Linked DNA regions of Homo sapiens: region 2 is linked to region 1. The links are contacts of gene promoters, found by promoter capture Hi-C in human tissues and cell types (Jung and others, 2019). All regions are on one chromosome and are shown on one strand. The core of a region is centred on a gene start or on the middle of the fragment in contact, and the rest is flanking DNA. Distances in the headings are between cores, read along the strand shown.

What was found. Contacts are between HindIII fragments. The study calls those that stand out against the background at their distance.
Region 2: a fragment that was not itself captured here is called in contact with the fragment with the promoter of NEDD4L in region 1 in 1 of the 25 tissues and cell types used here (mesenchymal stem cells).

The regions. Positions count from the first base shown.
Region 1 is chr18:58,041,818-58,047,043 of GRCh38, reverse strand. NEDD4L (NEDD4 like E3 ubiquitin protein ligase) reads right to left here and starts at 2,818. Exons shown (of 31, transcript NM_001144967.3): 1 at 2,336-2,818. The coding sequence starts at 2,383. RefSeq lists silencers at 2,184-2,733, 2,754-3,123 and a cis regulatory region at 5,013-5,226. The HindIII fragment of the contact is 3,203 bases long and covers 1,281-4,483 here.
Region 2 is chr18:56,737,393-56,742,618 of GRCh38, reverse strand. All of the region lies in intron 14 of WDR7 (WD repeat domain 7), which reads right to left. Among named protein-coding and RNA genes, the nearest start is that of WDR7, 89 kb to the right of the region's middle. The HindIII fragment of the contact is 4,184 bases long and covers 574-4,757 here.

The sequences.
Region 1 (5,226 bases), core at 1,569-4,068:
AAATTCAACAATTTGTCGTTAATATTCTACGAAGGCATTCCCTGATTCTCTGAAGGGCAACGTGACAGCATGAAACTGCCCATGAAAAACAAATACCAATGAAATGTGAAGTCATCAGAACTGCCCTGGCTTATTTTTTCACTGGTAGGAGAAAGTTGAAAAAGGAAGACGGCTGAGACTCATCTTGTGAAATACAATGTGTGTGGAACTAAATACTACCAGCGACATGGCAATAAATAGATAATAAAAGGTGTCTTCATCACCTCTTGCTATTTCCTATACAGCCCCAAATTCCCTTCTAGCAACATGCAGGAGTGAATCCAGTCACATGCCAACACACACTCGGACTCTGTTTACATTCCAAGCTTCACTTTCACACTAGACATCAGTTATGATGATTAGTAGTGACTCCTGTGGACAAAAGTGGCAAGATGTGCTCTAGGTAGATTCTGACACTCACTGCCAATGTAAATAAAGCACAAACAACAGTGACATTAACGTGTTTCATTTATCCAGCTGCACTTCCCAAAACACTCTTAAAATCGTTTTTTCGGGGGAGTTTTTACAAATAATCATGTTATTAAAACATTTTTTAAAAGAACCTAGGATGAAATGCAGCTGTCCTCACCCCCACCCCCCACAATACGTCAACCCAAGCAGCCCCTTTGTTTAGGAATGTCTGCGTCTCTGCAACTCAGGGCCTGCCCTCTACTGCCACTAATTAAATGGAGAAGTAGAGGATGCAAGGGAAAGCTCCTCAAAGAGAGAAGCCAGGAGGGAGAGGAGAAGCCCCCCGGGTCAATGAAACAATGCTACTGTCACCTATCCCCAGGTAGTTACACAAAACGGGAAATTATTTTACAAAAGCACAGCGAGGCAAAATAAACACACAAATCACACATTATTTGCACTGTGATCATTCTTTGATCAAATAAATACATCAAGCTTTGCCTAGCACCGCTAAGAAAAAAATTCATACCCTAAACACCCTTCCCACCCCAAAATACCTTTCATTCCACACTTACGTAGCACACAGGCACACACACACACCATGCCAGGGTAGGAGAGCCGCAGAAAGCGGAGCCATAACGCGAGCCTGTCTCAGATAATAGCCTTTCTTCCAACCCCACCCCCAACACGAGAGAAAGAGGGAACCTCTGAAAAGAAAGGAGGGAGGGGAAGAAAGAGAAATCGAGAACGCCTGAATTTCCAGGCATCAACTTTTCATGAAATGCACAACCAGGATAGGAAATACCTCCCTGCTGAGTAATGCTTCTTGGGTTGTAAAATTCACCTCTCGAAAGGGGAGCCAGACCTGAGCGCGCACCCCGCCAGATGGCAAACCACTCCTACCTGCTCCATCCAGCCTGCCTGTCACGCCGCGCCCGCGACAAGCGTCCCACCCCCCTTTTTGGCAGAGCAACATACCAATAAGAGCCGAGCGTGGCTGGTCGAGAGAGGACTAGGCAGTGATTTAGCAGGATTGTTTCAAAAGGGGGGAGTGGGAGACACGGAAGAGAGAATGAAGGTAAAAACAAAGCCCTTTCCAGTGAAACCGACCGCCTGGGAGGCGTGGCTTATTCAGTCGCTTTATTAATAAAAGAGATCAATTAAGCTTTCCTCTCCCCACCCACCCTGGAGGTGCCGGGCTTTGAATCCTCGGGAGGAAAAAATGGCAGGGCTGCAAGCTTCCTCCCCAAGTTTCCAGGAGCACCTGCCACCAGCCTTGAACACCTCCCCCACCGAGGCTCCGAAATCCACAATCCTGGCCGTAGACTTTGCAAAACGAGGGGAGGGACACACGCAGCGTGTCCCCCATTCCCGCCGGGATAAGCACGCACAGGCTTCTGAGCGCCTGCTGATCCACACAATCATGAGAGAGAAAGTTCCAGGGGGAAACGATCCGGCTTCTCCGCAGTCCCGGGTCTCCAGCCGCGCGACCCAGACGTGACATGCATCATGGACTCCCGGGCTGCAGGGGCGAGAGGCGGAAAGTTGCCCAACAGCCCCGGGAGACGCTGCTTGGAGAGGAAGAGGGAAGAGAGGCACGCATGCCCCCTCCCTCTCCTCCCGAAAGCGAGGAGCTGCGGAGTGAACCCCCAGCTCCAAGGGCGTCGCGCCGCTTTATTTACAAACAATGAGCTCGGCTTGCGGAGGGTGGGGGGTGCGGAAGGACCCAAGCTCCCCTGGATCCCGCTCCGGGGCGCTCCCGCTTTGGGGCTCCCCTGCAGACGCTGGGCACGAGCACCCCGGGGACGGCCCCTTTCCCCTCCCCCTGCCGGCGCGGGATAGGAACTCCCCGGGGAGTCCCGAGCAGGAAGGGGGTGCCACTCACCTCGTCTTCGGAAAGTCCATAGACCGGCTCCCCGAGCCCGGTCGCCATGGAGCCGGCGCCCCGCGCGGGGTCTGAGGCGCTCCCAGCGGCTGTGCTGCGGCGCGGACGGCCGGTTCTCCCCTCTGCCTCCAGGTCCCCCCGGTCCCGCACCCTACCCTGCGCACGCCCTGCCGGGTAAGCGGCCGGGCGCCGGCAGGTGAGGGTGCCCGAGAGCGCGCCCTGGACGCTGCCGGCACCGCTTCCTCCCGGAAGGCTGCGGGACCAGCGGGCGGGCGGCTCCCGAGAGCGCGCCGAGCACCGGGCGGCAGCCCCGGCGCCTCTCACTGCGCGCGGCGGCGGCGCAGACCCGGCCGGGCTTTCCCTCCCCGCGACCCGCGCCTCCCTCCCGCCCCGCCGCTCTCCGCCCCCCTCCGAGCCTCCTCTGCGCTCCCGGGGACCCGGCTCGCCCGCCTCCTCGCTAGCGCCGTCCGGGCCCCCGCTCTCTCCGCCCCCTCCTCCGCCTCCTCCCACCGGCGCCGCGAGGGTACCCTCCCCGTTCGCCGGGGCGGGCACACGCGCCCCCCAAGCCAATCACAGGCCGGGCTGGCGAGCGGGCCGCGGGCTGCGGGGGTGGCGGAGTTCAGCCCCACGCCCACCCCGGCCCGGGGCCTCCAGCGCGGCGCGGCGGGGGTCACCCGGCCGCGGGGCGGATCCGCAGGGGCGTGTACTGGCGCGCTTGGCCGGCGCCGCCGACCCTCCCTCCTCTCCCGGTTTCCCTCCGCTTTAGGGAGGGGGCGGGCTGGACGTTTGGGGGCGATAGAGGATTTTGCGAACAATAACAAAAACGCCCTGAGCGTTTCTTCCTCCCGGTGGTCTTTTTACCGAGAGCCCTGAGCTCGCTGTTAACTGTGAAAAGGGGAAAAGATGGATGTTTCTAGACCCCTTTAAATTCTTTGCGGCCCCGACGAGCAGGACTTGGCTACATTGTCAGCTCCCGGGAGCGAGCCGCCCGGCCCGGCTGCCAGCCGAGGAGAGGCTGCCCCAGTGTGGCCGCAAGTCGCCATTGCCTGTGTCAACCTTGCAGGGAACAAAACCAACATAGCGCCCGCCCCGGTTACACACCCACCCACGCGAAAACAGACAGCATGGTTCTTTGAATAAAAAGCAGTTCATTTGTGAGCCGCAACGTGAAATATCAAACTCAAGCTTAAGGTTATCCTTTGCATATGCAAATGATCGAGACGTCTTATTAGCCACCGTAGGATTCTTCCCACCACCCAGCTACCGTTTCTCTAGCAAGCAGTTCATTTAATCCTTCCGATTTATAGGACTGCAAGAGACTACTTTAAATAAGTGAAAGAAATTCGTCAGTCGACTTTTTCGGAAGCCTTTCCTTAAATTTAGATGTTAAGTGCAGTTGGGAGTTCAAAAAGAAAACAGACGCAGAACATTCCATTTGCCTTTGAAAAGGAAACGTCAAAGTGCCTACTTGGGTATTACCAGGATGCATTTAGGATTTTCATTCAAGGAAGTTCAGAGAGAACTCGCGTGACCCGAAGGAATCATATTCCTCGTTGCCAGCTACATAACTAAATATCTGCTGTTCGCCCTGCTAGTTCGTTTTCAAAAGAGCCCACCCATGCTACCTTAAGCTCTCCTTTGCCTTCCTGCAGCATGACTGGCTTAAAACCTGTGCCGTAGAATGGGTTTCCTTTGACGACTTAGCCCCATGGAGTCAACATCCTACTCAGAAGCCTTCTCTAGAAGTCTTGAGCCGTCAAGTCCACAGTACTTACAGGCCACAAAACCCCCAATGAGAACTATTTATGGAGGACTATTTAAAAGTCAGATTTCTGTCCATTCTTTCAATACTGAGGTTTTTCAACCCTTTCAAACCTCGAGTCTTTAGACCGGGCACGGTGGCTCAAACCTGTAATCCCAGCACTTTGGGAGGCTGAGGCGGGCGGATCATAAGATCGGTAGTTCAAGACCAGCTGGCCAATGTGGTGAAACTCCATCTCTACTAAAAATACAAAAATTACCCAGGCGTGGTGGCGGGCGCCTGTAATCCCAGCTACTCGGGGAGGCTGAGGCATGAGGATCCCTTGAACCTGGGAGGCGGAGGTTGCAGTGAGCCGAGACTGCGCCACTGCACTCCAGCCTGGACCACAGAGCGAGACTCCGTCTCAAAAAAAACAAAAACAAAAAAAAACAACCCTAAAGTCTTTTGATAAACAAAAGGTACACGTGCACACTCTGTCTTTCTCTCTCTCTCTCTCACACACACACACACACACACACACGCATTCTCAGATGCCCTTGCCCTAGCCTGTGACCCTCATGGATGGGAGTCAGTGCTTCTCTACCTACCCTCACTAGCCAAACCTTTGTAAAATTTGTACAGTTTATATTATAAAGGAAGAAAAGTAATTGAATAATAATGCTAGCATTTTGGGAGGCAGAGGCAGGAGGATCATTTGAGGCCAGGAGTTCGAGACCAGCCTGGGCAATATAGAGAGACCCCTGTCCCTACAAAAAAAAAAAAAAATTAAAAATTTGCCAGGTGTGGTGGCATGGGCCCATAGTCCTAGCTACTCAGGAGGCTAAGACTAGAGGTTCACTTGAGCCCAGAAGTTCAAGGTTACAGTGAGCTATGATCGTGCCATTGCACTCCAGCCTGGATGACAGAGAAAGACCCTGTGTCTCTAAATAAATAAATACATAAATAAATAATTCTTAAAATGTGCTGATAGAAAATTATAATTTCTAATTACACAGGACACGCCTTCCACATCCTGGAGGTACACAATTCCAGGCTTCGCCTTTGGGTAAGGCTATGTTATCTGGAAACTGTAGAGGGGTGTGGCAGTTTCTCTTCCTGTCTTTTATCATCTACTCCCACACACCCACCG
Region 2 (5,226 bases), core at 1,416-3,915, 1.3 Mb after region 1:
CTGAAGGTAAATATGTCTTATTCATTTGGTTCCCCAGGACCTAACACAGTACCTAGTAGTCAATAAATGTTTAACTGAACTTGACTGATTCAATTATTTTCTAACAGAGGCTTTAAAAGTCAAGAAGTTTGAAAACTTCTATATGATCTCATAAAGAGCAGATTTTCAAACATATTAGAAGAGAATAAATTATTTCATCTCCCAAAATACTAAATTATTAGCATTTTGCCATAAATATGTATATTTTTATAAATTACTTCACAATACCTTTGAGTTCTCAAATAAGAGTTAAAGTATTATACACAAGGGCTAGAAAGATCTGGCTGCTGAAAAGTCATAGGGTTTAATCCACCTAGCACTCCCTATTCTCTCAGCTTTCTACTATTTGATTTATGATGTGAGATAGTAAAAGAAATTTCTCCTCAGCTGTGTCTAACCTACATTCCACAATAATCTATATTTCTTCTTAATATAGTGTATTTTTGTTAATGTATTTGCAAGGAAAAACAAAACTGCTCTGAATTTAAAACCATCAAAGAACAAGACTGCTTCCCCTTGGCTCAGAATATGATGAATTATATTTAGTATGAACTCTGAATCCCATTCATAAATCCATTGAACACCTATTATATGTAACACACAGGGTCAATAAGGCACTAGAACCACAGGATTTATTAGGCTTCAGGAAGAGTTGTTCTGTTGTATATGTCATTATTTGATGGTATTATGCAATCATCACAATAAATCCAGTCATGTCTAATTCAAGGATCCTTAAAAAGGGAAAAGAGCCAAAAATCCTGTAATCACCAGAAACTTAGCAAATATGAATTAAATATTTAGTTAGTTTTGAGAATTTAGTTTTGTTCCGTAATGTAATGGTTGAGATTGCATTCATAGTAACCTAAAACTCATTTCCTTCAAACTGGAGAAGAGTTGGTGGAAAGGTACCCTGAGTTGGAAATTTTCAAAGTATCCATCCCAAACTCTCTGAAATATACACACATGATGCACACATACATTTATACATAAAGGAGCACATGCACTCACAACCCACATATAGTGTAATTTTCTACGTGTGTGAGTCCTATGACAGTGGACTTTTATTTTAATGGAGAACTTGGAGCAGATGTCAGATTTGTAGGAGCAGGAAGGGCCGATTAAATACAAAAAGATCAATCATAAGGTATTATCTGGGGGAAAGATCATAAACTAGAAGAGTGGCAGAGGCAGAGAGAAGACTGCTTTCAGAAGGAGATAAAAATGACAAAAGATTATTTTGGATTGGTTTTCAAGAGAAGATGATTCGATAACATTTAGGATTTGTAATATAGATAATGGGACAAACAGTGATGACAGTTACTAGGACAGAAAAAGTATTGGCAAACTTTTTCTGTAAAGAGCCACATAGCAAATACTTTAAACTTTGAGGGCCACAAAGCTTTATGTCACATATTCTTAATAATATTTTTAAAATATAAAAAGCATTCATAGCTCAAGGGCCCTATTGACCTGTAGGCCACAGTTTGCACCACTAGGTAGTAGAAAATAATGAGAAATGGAATGTTCTATGGGACATGATTTTGAGTTCAATCTTAGACATGTTGGCTTTAAAGTACCTTGGATAAAGCAGAGATCAAGCAAGCAGTAGGACCATCACTGGGAATACAGAAAGCAACAGAGCTTTTGAAAGTCTTGTGGGGCTAAAGAGAAAATTGAATATTCAAGGGACCAAGATCCTAGAGAGAAGGGAGGGAAAGAAAACAGAAGCTGACACAGGGCCATTCATGTTAAATGCCAAATACTGAAGCTGTGTGGGGAGACTAAGAATGTCTCTAGAAAGCAAAATGGAGTTTTTGGCAGGGTTCTCATGCTAAGAAGATAAGAAGTAGGATTCAGGACTCAACAAGCAAAAGAACCCCGTTAAATATTCTGGGCTCTCTGTTGGAAGCCCTGGAAGGACTAGAGAAGTAGAAGCAGAATCACAGATAGGCAGAGATTTAAAATACTGCAACCTAGCCTTGACTCAGGTTAGTCCCTGATTATATTAAGTTGGTCAGCCTTTATTCTATCTGAACAGCAGAGAAAGGGTGAGCCCCCTCTAGAAGAGGATATCATTTGAACAAGCTACTTTTTTTACCTACAATGTCTGGTATTTAACAAAAAATTACTACACATGCCAAGAGATTACAGCATATAACTGAAATTAGAGGCAATTAAAAGAGAGTCACCAGTGATACAGATATTAGAGTTGGCAGATAAAGATTTTAAGAAAATTAGGATTAATATGTTCAAGAAAATATAGAAAATGATGGAAAAGAAGATAAAAAGATAAAGAATTTCAGCAGATAACTGAAATCAATTTTTAAAAAAGGATCAAGTAGGTAGCCTAGAAATAAAGACAGTAATAATAATTAAAAGTATAACTCAGTAAAGGAGTTTGTGGAAAAACAGCAGAAAACAGTACTATGGAACACAGAAAATATATACATTGAAACACAGAGGGAGACAAAGATTACAAAATAGAGAGAAGAACATGAAACCTACGAAAAACAATTTTTTAAAAACGGGCAAAGGAGGCAGTCTAATTTACATGTTATTGGAGTTTCTGAAAGAGAGGTAAGAAAATAGCATCTGAAAAGATAATGGCCTCAAGAATTTTCCTGCACTAGTGAAAGACACAAACCTACAGATTCAAAAAGCTCTGGCAACTCCAAGCAGTATAAATACAAAAAAAAAAAAAAATCACATCTAGGTATGTCATATTTAAACTGCTAAAAAACAAGGGAAAAATAGAAAACCTTAATAGCAATGGGGGGATCCAAAGGAATAACAATAAGAATGATAGCTTATTCCCCCCCCCAAAAAAAGATGGAAATGAGAAGATAATGAAATCTTTACAGTGCAAAAGACCACCAACCTAAAAATCTATAATCAGCAAACATATCCTTCAAAAACAGAGAACATTTTCAGACAATCAAAAACTGAGAAAATTCAATGCCAATAAACTTGTACTAAAAGAAATGAGTAGTTCTTTCGAGGAAGAAAATGATCTTAGATGAAAACATAAAAATGTAAAGTACAAAAAGAACAGAGTTTAAATATAAGAATATTAAATAATATTGACTGAACAAAACAATAATAATGTCTAGTGGAATTTAAAGTATATGTAAAGTTACAATGCATGGCAACTAAAATGTAAAAAGAAGGGGGGGCAAATGGAGTTGTAGTGTTCTAAGGCTCTAGCACCAGCAGAGAAATTCTAATAGGAATAATTTGTTTTAGACTGTAATAAGTCAAAGATGTACTTACAATCTCTAGGGCAAAAACTAAAAGAATACTAACAGAATCTATAGCTAACAAGTATAAGAAGGGGAAAGTAAAATTTAAATATATTTGCTGAATCTGAAAGAGGCCAAGAAAAAATAGAAATAAACATAAAAACAGTGAAATGGAACTCAAACGTTAAGATGGTAGATCTAAACACTACTATATCAGTTTTCAGAGAAAAACAGAGATAGAGTAGCAGGGATTAGCAGTGGCCATAATAGTCAAGAGAAGAGCAAAGAGATAAAAGGTTTATAAAGAAGCAATTTAGAAAAAAAAAATCCAGCAGTCTAGGAAACTTGGAAAGGAAGTAAATGTGGATAATATTTTATCAACAGATAAATCTAGAACGCATTATTATAACCAATGTTTGCACTGAGTTACCAAAAAAGAGTTAACATTCAATACATCTTAATTAAAAGATAGGAATCATAATGTTTCCTATTCAAAAAGTTAAACAACACATTTTGCAAAAAAAAAAAAAAAAAAAAAAAAAGGATTTTATGCTATCTAAATGATCTGGACATTTCAGAGAATCCACAAAGTCCATATTTTAATATGCCAAATCATGGAGGCGAAATTTCCTGATTGCTATTCTTAGCTTATAAGTGCCAGGATTCAGAAAGCAATCAAAATTATGAGTGTAACTATTATGATACCCAAACATTATTCTTTCAGAGTATCATCTCTGTTATCATGTGAGAGACTGAAAATAATTTGTTTGTTTGTTTTTGTTTGAGACAGGGTCTCGCTCTGTCACCCAGGCTATAGTCCTGTGGCATGATCTCAGCTCAATGCAGCCTCAACCTCCTGGGCTCAAGCAATCCTCCCACCCCAGCCCCTAGAGCAGCTGGGACCACAGGTGTGTGCCACTAAGCCTGGCTAATTTTTGTAGAGGCAGGGTTTCACCATTGCCCAGGCTGGTCTCCAACTCCTGATTCAAACGATCCGCCTACCTCGGCCTCCCAATGTGCTAGGATTACAGGCATGAGCCACCGTGCCTGGCCAAGTTTTAAATATCTCTATATCATATAATCACCAAAGCTAATAAGAAGCATGTTAGAAGATCATGATTATTTTATTACTGGACTAATATTACTTCTAGTATCTCTCCAGAATGGAAGGGGACAAACGTTTCCTTTATTTGACTGAGAAAATGTATTTCCCCTCTTACAGTCACAGGCATTTACTCCTTTGTTTTCTTAAGACTGGACAGCTTAGCTAAGGCTCCTTTATTTATTAGGGACTAGACAACAATTGGCGTAATTTAAAATTTTGTCCCAATAACCACAGAGGACAAACAAAACTTACATACTTATGAATATATAATAATATATTATCAACATACTCATATTTTCTATTAAAATATTCATTAAAGTTTTGGGACAGAATGTTAAACAAATTTAATTGATTCTTCAAAGGTCATACATATCATAAGAATTCTTCTAAGGACAAAAACAGTTCACTAAACAAGGCCTGGTATCCCGTACACAATGTCATTTGGCTTGTCCCTGTCTGTACCTTACAGTGCCCTTTTCACAGTGAATCATAAAGTCTATTCAATCAGTACAAATTTTTTTAGAGTGAATTTTGCAAGCAAAGAACACAGACTATGTTCTTAGTAGGTTATATTTGACTTCTAAATTCCATTCTCTTGCCTCGTTACACAGAATACAAAGCTACTGACCTTTGCAAATATAGCACATTCATTTTTTTTCAGACTTTTGACTAATTAGACAACATGAGAGAAATGTAAGGTAAAAGATAAATCATCCTGGTCATTTTTCCACTTCCTCAACCTCATCATTTTCCCCTATAAATAAGGTGATTCTGATTGGCACAACAATGCTCAAGATGTAAAGCTGCAGAACAGAAAATTACACACAGTAGGATGAAGAAATT